Regions from separate parts of the Homo sapiens genome. Here region 1 is linked to region 2. The links are contacts of gene promoters, found by promoter capture Hi-C in human tissues and cell types (Jung and others, 2019). All regions are on one chromosome and are shown on one strand. The core of a region is centred on a gene start or on the middle of the fragment in contact, and the rest is flanking DNA. Distances in the headings are between cores, read along the strand shown. Region 1 has its middle 270 kb from the start of XKR9. Region 2 holds the start of EYA1 (EYA transcriptional coactivator and phosphatase 1).

Region 1 (6,278 bases), core at 2,980-5,479, 430 kb after region 2:
TCTCCAATGAGGCAGTTTATAACTATAGTGTTCATGTGCATTACCAAAATTAAGCATTAATCCTTCATTCTTTAGTCAATTGCACAATTCCCTCAACATCACACAAATCAAAATTTGTTTGATTAGAACAAAATGACATCCTAGACTGAATTTTTAGGCTTCACAAACTTGGCTATCAGAATCATTGGGGGACCTTGTTAAACTACAGATTGCTGCTAGATCCTAATTTTGGAGATTCTGATTTAGTTGGTCTGGGTGGGCCCACATGAATCTAACAATTAGCCAGTTAAATCATGTGTTAAATCATGTTTGTTCACATTTATTTTGCCTAGTATGTGACTAATAAATAGTTCTTGGGATTGTGGGCTCTTAAAAACATATCTTAAACTTTAGTAAACATATTAATAATGATGTATGGTGCTATCCAACTTAAAAACAGGTTTTATCTCCTAAATATTTTCTATAATTAAACTTCACAGTCACAGTCACACACACACATACATACGCATATGCAGGAGGTTAATGTGGGGTGTGTGTATGTGTGCATGTGTGTGTGTGAATTTCCTGGAGGTATGTGCTGTAATTACCCACCATTCCGGAACCTCTCATATATCAATTTATCTCTGTAATCTGATCATTTGCTGCAGTTAGGGTATGTCCCATTTCTATTCCTCTGCAAAGTTCACTCATGTTTGTAAAATAATTACTCCAACTAAGAAATAAGACAGTACATTTTTTAAAAGAAAAAAACATAACATATCAAAGAAAAAGACAAAATCCTAAATGCATGCAATTTACTTTTTAAAGAAGCGGCTTTGGACCCTTTTCTACCCTGACATCTGCCTGGTTCAAGCAGCCTTGAAATGAGAGTTCAGGCACTTCTAAGAATGTTCTCAATCCAGGGCATTTGGTCCCTCAGTCGGGTAGGAGTCAAGGCAATCAACAGTGGTTTAGACTAAACAGGAAGAGACCCAGCTCAATTAACGGGACAGACACAGGAATAGTCATCGCATTTAGAAACAATGAAAATTTGAAAAGCATTTTGTTGCCAATAGTCAGCTAATACACACACAGGTAGACAATTACACTGTCCATCCCTTTCAAATGTGTCCGGTAAATTCACAAGATTTACAATCACTGTATTGCATCTAAGTTCTCCCACAGAGAGTTCATGAAAATTAACTCAATCTCTTATTTAAAATCATCCCAGACATGATTACGATACAGAGAAAACCAAGCATCCCTCTGCCTGGGCTCTTCCAGTGTAAGGAAAGCCACTAACTCTTTCACAGGAGCAGATTGTTTCAACTTAATTGAATGAAGTAAACTTGGGGAAATACCTGACATTGCCAACTTGACCTCTGCTAAGCCTTTTGAACTTCAATCACTGTCCTCCAACACAAAGCCTTCTATTAGGCTTTCAGCTATTTCCCCTGATTACACAGGTAGCTTATCTTAAGGATTCCAAGGTTTCAGTTATCATTTCTGACCTTATTGTGAGACAAGTATTATTTCCGTGCTGGGTTTTATGACTAAGCCTCCAGAGCTATTTGCTGGTTTGATTGAGTAAAGAGCATCTCATTTCAGTTTCTTATCCACCAAGACCCCATAACTTATTCTAAAGAAGGAAAAGTGGTTTTAGTTTATGAGAATACTAGTGAAAAAGCTCAAATAAATTAGCACTAGTTAGAAACTGTCCAAAATCATAATCTTTGGTTTTTTGTATAGATTTCAAAATTAAAAATGTAATTTGGAACATGGGGCAATAAAGATGAAAATTGTTTCCAATAACAAAGTGCAGATGGTAAAAAACAAAATGGCTTGAATGTCTCTAACAAACAGAATTATTCTTCTTCTCACTCCCTTGCAGAAGTAGTTTTGAATATATTGCCCAACCTGGTAAATAAAAGGTGCTTCAAATCTGAGTTAACAGCTAACTTTCTTATTCTTAATTCTAGATTTTATGTGCCTTTTAGAAATATACCAGACAAATTTAAAATATGGGAAAACATTTAGAATTCATCCAACTCTTAATTGCAAAGTAAAACAAATATAATTTTCTCTCAGCAGATTGTCAGTGATTAAAAAGACTGCTAACAGCCAGTGCCAGCAAATACGAGGGGGAAATACACTCTCATATACTGTGGGAGGACAAATTACTACAAATTCTGTGGAAAATGATTTATTTGTAATATCTACTGAAATGCAAAATATGCATACCTGGCAAGGCTATCCACTGAAGAATTGTTTACAATATCAAAAAGAGGGAAAAATTTAAGCAGAGGTTCAAAGTTCAGTGTTTAATAGTAACAATACAAAGTGTGCATAGTACATTTTAAGTAAGTAAAACTCAAAATACATTCTAGATAAATATATGTAATAATATTCCAATTTAGGGTATCAAATGTGTATGTGTGTGTGTGTGTGTGTATATATGTATATGTATATATATATGTATATACATATGTGTATATATGTATATATATGTATATATGTGTATATATATGTGTGTGTGTGTATATATATATATATATATACTGAAGAAACAGGAAGGATATATATCAAATAGCTAACCAAGTTATTAACCTTGAGAGGAGAAAATGTATGTAAGAGATACTCAGCTTCTTATTTTATAAAATCCAAACACATATGGAGGGATGAGAGTGATTTTTATATTTTAGTACATTTCAAAACATTTTTAACCTAGAAAAGTACTTTAGAAATCAGAAACCTATATCTAAGTAAATATTAAAAGAAGTAAATATCTATTCTTGTCATCTGCAGATAAAACCTCTATGAAATAAATGAGCTCTTAATTTTGGGGGAACTACATTTGTTAAAACGAGTTACATCAAGTTGGACTCTGCCTTTGCCATTTCTTGGTGTCCAGTTAGTCTAAATAAACATGCATAATTCATTTATTTTTGCATATTTGAAATACGAATTTGCTGAGGGGACACATGCATTGCTTAATTCTCTTCCCCTGTGTTATAATAAGCTTGCATAGTAATTGCAAAGGTTTCCTCTAGAAACTTTATTGTGTTGTTTGGTCCATTGAATGGAAATTTTATCTTCTTTTAAGTGGAATTGTGCAGGATTAAGGGATAGAATACTAAAATAGTTGCAATAAGCCTTTTGTCTATGAGTTGTTTTGCTTTACAAAAATAAAACATCGTATTTATTGTCCCAAATCCTACAGAAATGGATTGTCACATAGCAGGGTTTTCTTCATATTTTCCAAAACTGTATACCTTATTGCTAAGCTGCCCAAATTTCTTATCAAATTAAAAATATGAACATCAGCCCATCAAACAAGTCTCTATAGCCCCCTAAGTGTCATAGAGAGATGTTAGTATTGGCAAGAAAAGTTCATGAAGTCTATTACTTCTGCCAAAATTGCCTGGAATTTCCTGGCATTCCATTTCAACAGAATATCAGTTTAACAGTATGGCTGACCAATGCTCAACCAGGCAAGGGTCTTAAGAGTTAATATTTATTATAATATCCACACAATTAAGACAACATATAACTCTAAAGTAATTTTATACATACAAAAATACTTGCAAACTAATATGTTTATCAATTTTTTTCTTCTCTTTTTCCCCTTCACTTTTTAAATAACACTACTTATGTGGCCTTGAGAAATTTGTTTAACTTTTCTGAGATTTGGTTTCTCATCCACAAAATGGGGATAATATTATCATAATAAATGTTTACCATGAGAATCGGGTAAGTATGTTGCTTAGAACAGCTCAACAAGTGCTCCATAAATGGTAGTTCCTGATATAACTAATAGATACTGATGACAGCAATATGCAATTAAGAGGCAGTATTCTACTCTTGTGTGGATGTAGAGCAGTCCCTAGAGAGTATAAAAATCAAATCAGAAACTTTCAAAATAACTATTTCTGGGCCCCAATCATCAAAGACTCTAATTCACTCAGTCTGGGATTAGGCATAGGAATCTTCATTTTTCATAAGCACCCTCTAAGTGATTCTTATCACTTAGGAGAAACAGTGATACAAAAGGAAAAGCAGAGGAATGTAAAGGAAGAAAAAGGAAGAGAATATACTCCCCTGTTCCCTGGCAGCCTTCATTCTTTACTACCATTAACTACTTTCTCCAGATTTTGTGACTAAGAAATCTTCTCCTAAATCTAACTTCTATGTACGTTATGCCAGGAAAGACAAAAAAAAAAAAACTGTTCTTCCCCTTCATCTCCAACTCTGACTACATTCTCTTCCAACTTCAACAAGATATTGCTCTATGCCCTAAACGCCCTAAGCGTCCCATTATTCCTTTGGGTTTCCATCATTGTTGGTTCCTTCTAACACTCGTGGTGTAGGATAGAGAAAAGAAAGATGATTCTTAAAGACCAGCACATTTCATTTCTATGTATTGATCCCTAACCTAAAAGCATCTGTAGCCCTATCAGAACTTGGAATTCACACCAGCCCCTATGTTCTCTCTTCAATAATAGAGGAGCCCCTCATTTACCCACTTCTCCTTTACAGTATCCTCACTCAAAGCTACCTCTTCTGGTGAACAGTGAGCCTAATGAATATCTTGCCCCAGGAAGAAGGTAGGCCCGGGTTTTAGAGGGTCGGAAACCTGTCCCATTTGAGGGACACACTTGAAGACAAAGAGTATAAAAATAACTCACTTTCACACACACAAATATGATCAAGTGAACTGAAAGCTAGGGTCCGTTCACAGCCTTAAAAGTTGTTATGAACTGAATTGTGTTCCCCCTAAAATTCATATGTTGAAGTCCTAGCCCCCTACTGTGTCTGTATTGGGAGATAGGGCCTTAATGGAGGGAATTAAGGTTAAATGAGATTGTAAGGGTGGGCCCTAATCCAAAGGGACTGATGTCCTTACAAAAAGAGGACAAGCACTAGGGTTGTGAATGCACAGAGAAAAGGACATGTGAGGACACAGCAGAAGGTGGCACTCCACAAGCCAGGGAGAAGGGCCTCGGGAGAAACCAGTCCTACTGGCACCTTGAACTTCCAGCTTCTGCTGTTTAAGCAACCCAACCTGTAGTATTTTGTTATAATACTTTATTATGACAGGCCTAGCAAACTAATACAGAAGTGGTCCATGCAATTGAGAGGTCCTGGTGCTGAAATGTCATTAACTTCTCCCTACCTCCTTCTCTTCTAACAGGCAAGCTGAACTTCACATCACTATTATGGCAATGCCAACTCTGACCTAGACTAGTGGTTATCAAAGTTTGCTGAATATTTGCATCCTTAAAAGTCCAGCTCAAATACTGTATTCTATAAATTATTTAATCTCCTGAGATGCAATTAATTTTTCCCTACTCCATATCCTATCTCACATCGGTCTGCATCTCCATTGCTGCCCTTATTTAATTCTGCCTTATATTGTCATCAGTCATTATTCATATTATACTACCACATTCATGTTATTCATATTAATTAATATCTATATTAATTAATAATAACAATATAATATTTTACTTAATCATTTAAATTTCTCATGGGAAGAGACCATGTCTACTTCTATGCTTAACACAATAATTTGCACATAGGAAGTCCTCAACAAATGTATTGAACTGTCTAATACGTGTGAAATGCCTTGAGGTCTTTACTCAACAGAATCAAGAACATTAATTATCTCACTACCTACCTACCTACCTGATATGGTTAGGATGTATGTCTCCTCCAAATCTCATGTTGAAATGTGATCCTCAGTGTTGGAGATGGGGCCTTTGGTAGGAATTGGATCATAGGTCTGGATCTCTCATTAATGGCATAGCACTATTCCCTTAGTAATTTGTGAGCTCTCGCTCAGTTAGTTCACTCAAGATCTGGTTGTTTACAGGAGTCTGGGACCTTCCCCTTCTCTCTCTTGCTTTCTCTCACACCACATGATATACCTGCTCCCTCTTTGGCCTCTGCCATGATTGTAAGCTCCCTGAGGCTCTCACCAGACAACAAACAGATGCCAGTGCCATGCTTCCTGTACAGCCTGCAGAAGTGTGAGCCAAAATAAACCTCTTTTCTTTCTAAATTATCCAGCCTCAAGTATTTCTTTATAGTGACACAAGAATGGGCTAACACATGACCTGTAGAATATGTACATAAAATCAAAGAATTTTATAGCTGAAAAGGCCTTAAGGACCATTAGTTACTAGCTACTCACTTTATCCATTTGCCAGGCATTATTCAATAATTAATAACAGATCTAGAACTAAGAAAGAGGTTAGTCACGATCCTACCACACAACCTGGCTGGTCATACAGACCTGA
Region 2 (7,114 bases), core at 994-3,493:
ATTTATGGGTAAACGTGATTGTTTTTAATCCATCTAATTTTGCTTCAGGAAAATGAAACTCTTTAAAAGTAGTAAATATGCACATGGATATTACTTTTAGTCAGTGACTAAGCTCTTTGTTACATAATTATGAAGCATGAGCTATACCATATCAATTAGTGGTCACATTACATTCATCATGATTTTACTAATTTTCTTCATAATTATATGCATCATTTATTTAATATTTCATTTGGTTATATAAATAAAAATTAAATTTCAACATAAAATATGTAATATGATACATTTAACTATAATGTGGGCAAGTAACTTGTATATAAATGTGACATACTTTACATAATATTCCCACTGTTTTGATTTTATATAGTTCATATATTCTGGATTTGTCAATATAATCTTTCATGGATTAGAAAAATAATTTCTTACTCTCTTATGTCTAAAATAATTGTTAAACAATTGGAAGCATGAATACAATAGCTAAATGTAAAATTTCAAGCATTGTTTAATTCTCCAACATCTCAAATTTTAGATTTTATAGAGCTTAGAAATAAATGTGGTTGCAAAAGTATTTACTGTTTGATATCAGATTGAATTACCACAACATTACATTTTATCTGACAATGCTAGAAATCTCCATTACAAGCTGTATTTTATTTTCTGCATATATACTTTAGTATATTGAATAACTGATACTTCTGGTCTGAGAAAGTGCAGTAGGTGGTAACATAATTCTATTTCTGCTGCATATATGAACAGATCCAATAGCAATCAACTGTGTTTTGACCTGGCTTCCCAAATATGGTAGATGACTAGCCCATGATTCCTTGCTGGTACTATACAAAATGAAATCCTAGGTGAGTTTGCAGTTTAAACTGTCGTTTATGTTTGACAAAGTGTTCTTTTCTGAGGAATTCAGATTGGCATACTTTCGGTGGTTGGGGGGAAGTCTGTAATAAATTTTGGTCATTAGCAGCTTTTTATTTTTTGTTTGCATCGGAATGGTGCTTTCATTTACATATTAGCAATATAAAGTTATGATTGTGTCTATGTGTTTTATTAGTTGACGATCTGGAAATGTATTATAAAGTCATGCAAAAAGTTATTGTGATTTTTAAAATTTTTTTCACATCTATCAAGCGCCTAAAAAATGAGGACGCTTTTTTTTTCCTTAAATAAAAGACCTAATCAGCAGAATAGTATTCTATGGGTGATGACAAAACAGTTTTAAGAAAAATCCGATGGGCTTAAAGATTTTATTTTAGAGCACAAAATTGGTTACAACGAGTGACTAGTATCAAAATAAACATTTGTATTTGAATGTTGGCACAGGTCTGGCAAATTGAGATACAATCATTAGTCACATAAACGATGCCTTCTTTGAATATTTGAAATCAACATAATGGTTAAGTCTTATCACCAAAGTCATGTATCTGTATAAAACATATCTTAACTGAAGCTCAGCTCTTTAGGTGAGTGTTATAGACTGTCATGCATAGATTCCGAGGTCAGTAAGAATTTTTTTTTAAAAGAATAAGCTGTAAAGAAAGAGTTCTAGATAACATGAATCTTTTCCAAAAACCATTTAAAAATATTAACACTGAAACATTATCTGGTTCATAGCCAAGGAATTGTTCACAGAAGATTTGCCATTCTAGAAATCATTTCGGATTCATCCTTCAGGCTTTCATTATTAAACTGATAAAAGCTTGCACGTTTGCTTTTTCATTTTCTACTTAAAGGGAAATGGCCATTCTAGTTTTTTATTTCCCCCAGACCTGTTTCAGTAGTAGGTACGTTAGTTAGGAAATAAATTATGAAAAGTAGTGGATTCCCTAAGTTTCAGGGCCTGAAAAAAGTTTAGGAAAAGTGTAAAAGATAACGTGTAACTACTCCCCAAAGATCTTAATTGGTAACTACTGTTGCAAGAGGACGCGTGTGTGTTGACCACGTCTCAGAGAAGTTATTCTCACACAGCTGTTTATTCAGATAGCGTGGGGCGCGTTCATTTACATAATTTTTTTTTTTTTAAACAGCAAGGTTGAGTCAGACAGAGCAGTGCTCCTTTCAATTGTTGCATTTAAACCAATAAGGTTAGGACAAGAGAATAGCTGTGGTTTGCGTTGCAAAAACCAAAAAAAAAAAAAAAAAAAAAAAAAGAAAGCCCCGAGGCTCCATGGGCAGACCTACAAGGCTGCGCAAACAAATCGAGGGATGAGATTCTGCTGTTTCTTTGTCTAGGGTTCTCAGATGCTATCTGCCGCTGCTGTTTGGTGGGGAAGGAGCGCTGGGCGCAAAGCTGTTACCAAACAGAACGGTGGGAGCTGATGGCTCCGAGTTTGGGGCGAGGTAGAAACTCTCCAGTGCCACTTCCGACTTTAAGCCTTCCTGTTGCCGTCCACTGTGGCGGGTTTCTTCCTGGGGAACACGTTTTCGCTCAGTCGCTCGGCAGCCCGAGCCTGCGGCAGCGGCCAGGCGCCTGCCCCCTGCGCCGAGCTTTCCCCTGCAGAGGCGCTCCACTCCCAGAAGCGCCGCGGCTGCACCAGAGCGCCTGAGAGCCCCCGCGCGTACCCATCCAGGAGCAAAACTATGTCAGGAATGGAGGTTTGCTAACCCAGAAAATTCGAAGGAACACATTAAACTGGTGGATGCAGCAGATGTAAGCGCTGTAAGTACAAGCTGACTGTTTGAAAAATTGTAGTGACTGACAACAGCTGTCCTGTGGGCAAAGCCCAAGCTAACAGGAGCGCTTTTATTATTGTTTTGATTTGTTTTCAAAGAAAAACATTATGGCATGGGGAAAATTATGACACTTTGTACCTAGTACTTTATGAGCCACAGGGTTTCATCCTAGAAGTAGAATTCCCAACCTCCAAATTATGAGCGATCAGGATCATTAAGAAATAATTACAAATTAATTGTTAACAATTACTTTTGTTATGCTCTAGATAAATGTAATGCAGGACCATATTCTTGCAGGGAGATGACTTCATATCTCTTTTCTGAATTGCTGCACAAATCTCAAATATATTTGTGTGGTATTGAATAAAGCGGTACATATATGTTCATTGCAATACATAAGTAACTTTTACACACTTTGATATGAAAAAAATGAAGCATTTAACATTTGAAAGGACAACAGATAACAACATTAAATTGATAGCACTTTTTAAGGAAGAAAATATTTTTGCTTTAATAAATTTCCCAAACGTTATATTAAACAAACTTATCTTCAGAAGGTGATATAACAAACATTTACCCAATTAATATATTTTTCTCTTATTGACACTTTGTAAGGCTTGAGTGGACCTTGAAGTTTAAAACAAGATCTGTAAACTTTTGAATTACCATTTAAAATATTTGCCATTCAAAATCAGTATATGAATTGTTAATGACTCATGGGTTTATATTTATTGGGAGGAGGTTTTGAACACATTAGAGCATAGCATTTGCAAGAATTCAATAAATTCAGAGCTGTCATTGAATTTAGGCAAACGTTTTTGTTTTATTTCTTAAAATGGCAAGGGGTACAAAAGGTCGATAGTAAGCACATAGTGTAGTTTTATAGGTTTGGGATTGTTTTTATAATGTGTCTTTCAAAGTAGGTTTTATTTTATGCTTGCATGAGTCTTTTCCCCCACAGTCTGGGGTCTGAGGACATGCACACATGTACAGTCATGCTTTTGCATTATCAAATATTTGATATTTGACTTTCTGCATGCTTGAGTTCTCCCAAGGCCCAAAGTGTTCAGTAAGTGAGCAAGCAGCCATGGATTTTCAATCTTTGAACATTCTTTGCGGTGACAGACATAGAGGCCTAATTGAGCCACTGTTCAGTTTTAGAGGGCCAAATGGAAGTCCACTGCTGTGTGAGTTTCATAGACATGATAAATGATTTTCTCAAAAGAAAATTTCCATTTGTGAAAATCGTATTAAGAATACATTGTAAAGAAGAAAAACACTTGCAGCAAGAATAAAACCACTTGTTTATCAAATATCAAAAGTATTTCATTCAACATTTTAAGTAAATTGATATTGAAAACAATCCTTTAAAGCTATTGGTAGCATCCATGTGGTTTAAATACTTATTTTTGTTTTCATGCGGACTCTATTTTGTCATTTTCTTTAAACGACGCATTGCAAAAAGTAATGTACTATACTACTTGAAAATAATCAGCAGTAGTATTAAAGCATTTATTTTATGGAGTCTTTGATAAAGAAGGAAATATAGTGTTAACATTTAAAAAACATTGACGTCTCCCTAGAACTTCATTTCAATTTTAGGTTTAGGTTTTTATTTTTAAAATTTAAGTTTTCATTACAACAATGATGCCATAGTTGGAGATATCGATTGAGGAGAAATTTTAGCAAGAATATACCCTAAAACACAGATTTATGGCTAAGGAAAATTTTTTTTACATAAAATACATTCTGATGAGAAAATTGCCATTGTCTTTCAAATTTGGGAGTACTCAGGTTGATCTGTGGTTGGACAAAACTAGCTTGCCTGCCAACTCTATTTATTTAGATAAGCTCAGTACTTTCACTTTGAAAATTTCTTTTCAGTTTGAAAAAAAAGTTTTAAATTATAGTCATTTTATAAAAATTGCTTCTAGCAAGCAAAAAAAGCCTATGGAAAACCCGTAATTTAGACAAGTACCTACATTTTATTTGCTCTGTGCTGCTGAGATTTAGAATCCCTTTCCATTTACAGTTTACTTTTCACAGAACATTATTAACTTTTTGGCTTCATGCATGATCTTCTGTCAGATGCTTTTGATTTGTAATTTAGCAAAGTATAATAAACAGTGCAAAAGTCATGAATTTTGCTCTGCATCCTGAGCTCTGTGGTAGGGAAAATGTGATAAAATGTGTACCTTAAGTCTTGTTTGATGATCTCTCAAAGCAAGTTTGCCTTCTGGAAATAATTTCTGGGGTTGAAGAGCATGGTATTAACAGATTTAATGTGGCTATTCAATGGATTGGCGAAGTACTATGTGAGGTTTAACAAAATGAGAGAGACAAATTGAATATCAACAAAAGTTACATCTGTGAAGAATTATAAATTTAATTAGAAAAAAGGCAAACTTAAAAGACCTCATTAACTAATCAGAAGTCAAAGTTACTAGTTTAGGATTCTTGAATTTGAATTCTAAGAAGTTCTGCTTGTTGCTATTTGTATTTTCACAACTCTGTCAATATGCTACTATGGGTATTCTATACAATGAGTTTTAAAAAGCATTAAAGTGAAATGACTTGATTGTAATATAAGATGACCATTTGTTATGTTATGGGAAATATTTTTGCACTCATAGAAGTATTTAAATTAAAAATACCAGATTAGGAGAAGACAAGAAACATGCTAAGTTTATGGGTGTAAAGCAGAAAATGTGAACTTACTGAATGCCTCACATCACTTTTCTAGAAACAATAAAAAATAATATTTTTCTCTTTTGAATGGAAATATCCCTAATTAATTATTTTCAAAACACATTATGGTTTTAGACCTTTACAAGACAGAAACTTCCAGAGATATTATCAAACATGAGAGGAAATCAACAGCAATCAGAAATAGGTGTTCTTTTTAGATAAGTCATTATAAGACTATGTTTCCTTCTGCACTGTAATCTTGTACTACACATAAAAAACTAAAAGCATGTGAAGTGTAGCATTTTGTAAACTGTAACTAATTTTGCTCACATCTGTGTCTAATTGTTGTCTGCATTCGCATTCTTGAGAGTAGATTTATTTTTCCTGGACCACGATGTGGATTCAGCTGACCAGCCTAAGTGAGGATTAGTTGTTTTAAAGTTATTTTGATTAAAGAGTCATTTTTAAATACAGTAACACACAACACATGGTTTAAATAATCCCTGAGACACAAAAGAGTATATCTGAAGTATACTTAATGAAATGTAGATCATGCATATGGACTTTCAAAAGTTGTAGAGTATGAAAATACAGTAGAGTCTAGTTGAACCAGCATAAAAGAAATGTGTTGTCGTGAAAATGCATGTTTTCACTGAAATGTGGTAGACTAATTCTTGTTTTGAAGTTCACTTTTTCTTTATTAACAACAGTTTGACTTTGAAATTTAAATATGATTGGTTAAAGTACAAATATAAATCTAACCAAACTTTCAAAGTGTATACTGAAACTAAAATTATATTTCCAACATTGTACTTTCCAGCTAATGTTAAAATGGAAATGTATTTTAACATTTAACAGAAAGAATGCTTTAAATACTCTTTCACATAATTAAGCCAGGAGAGTTCTTAAAACTAAGTTAGTTCTCACCTATAATTTATTCCAGGTGTATAAAAGTGGAGAAAAAAAAAAAAGAAAAAGGAAATTTATCCTTGAGGTATATTGCTGGACTTTCTAAAGGAAACCACTTAAACTTGTGTGAGAACATTAATTTTTAACAAAAATCGCAGAAGGTTGTTATCACGGAATGACACATCTGTAGGCATTGAAATTTAATTTTTATCTTATACTCAAGCGTCTTTTAAAAATTGTTTTTCATCCTGCACGTATTGTAGAAACATACCTAGAAATTTTACGTAACATTATACCAAGACAGTTGGACTTTAATGATGCTTTATTCTTGCTAGAAAGGTAGTATTTCTTATTTCATAAATCATAATTTAAAAATAACAGGACTTAACAGAAGACGTTTGGTTGGATAACTGTAATGCCATTCGAGATGCTTTAGTTCTCATCTTTGTTCTGTAACCCTAATTGATGTCAGTTCAGGTTGAATGAAAATGCACATCAAAGATTTGGAATTCTGAGCCATTTTAAACGTTTTGCAGAATGCTCTCCTACTGAGGCGTTAGCCTGAGCTTACAAGCCAGCAGCCTGGCCTCACCTGAGCTTTATCACCTGCTGGCAGTTTGAGCTGCTTCTGGAAGAAGGGCAGTGACTGTCAAAGCCTGCACATTAGTTAAGTTGTTCAGTGAAGTCCTGAAGTACAGATTCATCTAGAAACAAGAGAGACTGAAATGTAGGCTGACTAGGATGGTGAATTGATTATTAAACTTTCCATTTTCTTCCTCGGTTTAAAAGATGGAAAATCCACCAAAAAAGCTAACTACATTTTCTGGTTTACCAGGCA

What was found. Contacts are between HindIII fragments. The study calls those that stand out against the background at their distance.
Region 1: a fragment that was not itself captured here is called in contact with the fragment with the promoter of EYA1 in region 2 in 1 of the 25 tissues and cell types used here (lymphoblastoid cells).

Annotation. Positions count from the first base shown.
Region 1 is chr8:70,931,361-70,937,638 of GRCh38, reverse strand. It overlaps a transcript of XKR9 not described here. Among named protein-coding and RNA genes, the nearest start is that of XKR9, 270 kb to the right of the region's middle. The HindIII fragment of the contact is 6,952 bases long and covers 754-6,278 here.
Region 2 is chr8:71,357,198-71,364,311 of GRCh38, reverse strand. It overlaps EYA1 (EYA transcriptional coactivator and phosphatase 1), which reads left to right and starts at 2,243. Exons shown (of 18, transcript NM_000503.6): 1 at 2,243-2,665. RefSeq lists enhancers at 2,453-2,562, 2,315-2,836. The HindIII fragment of the contact is 13,424 bases long and covers 1-7,114 here.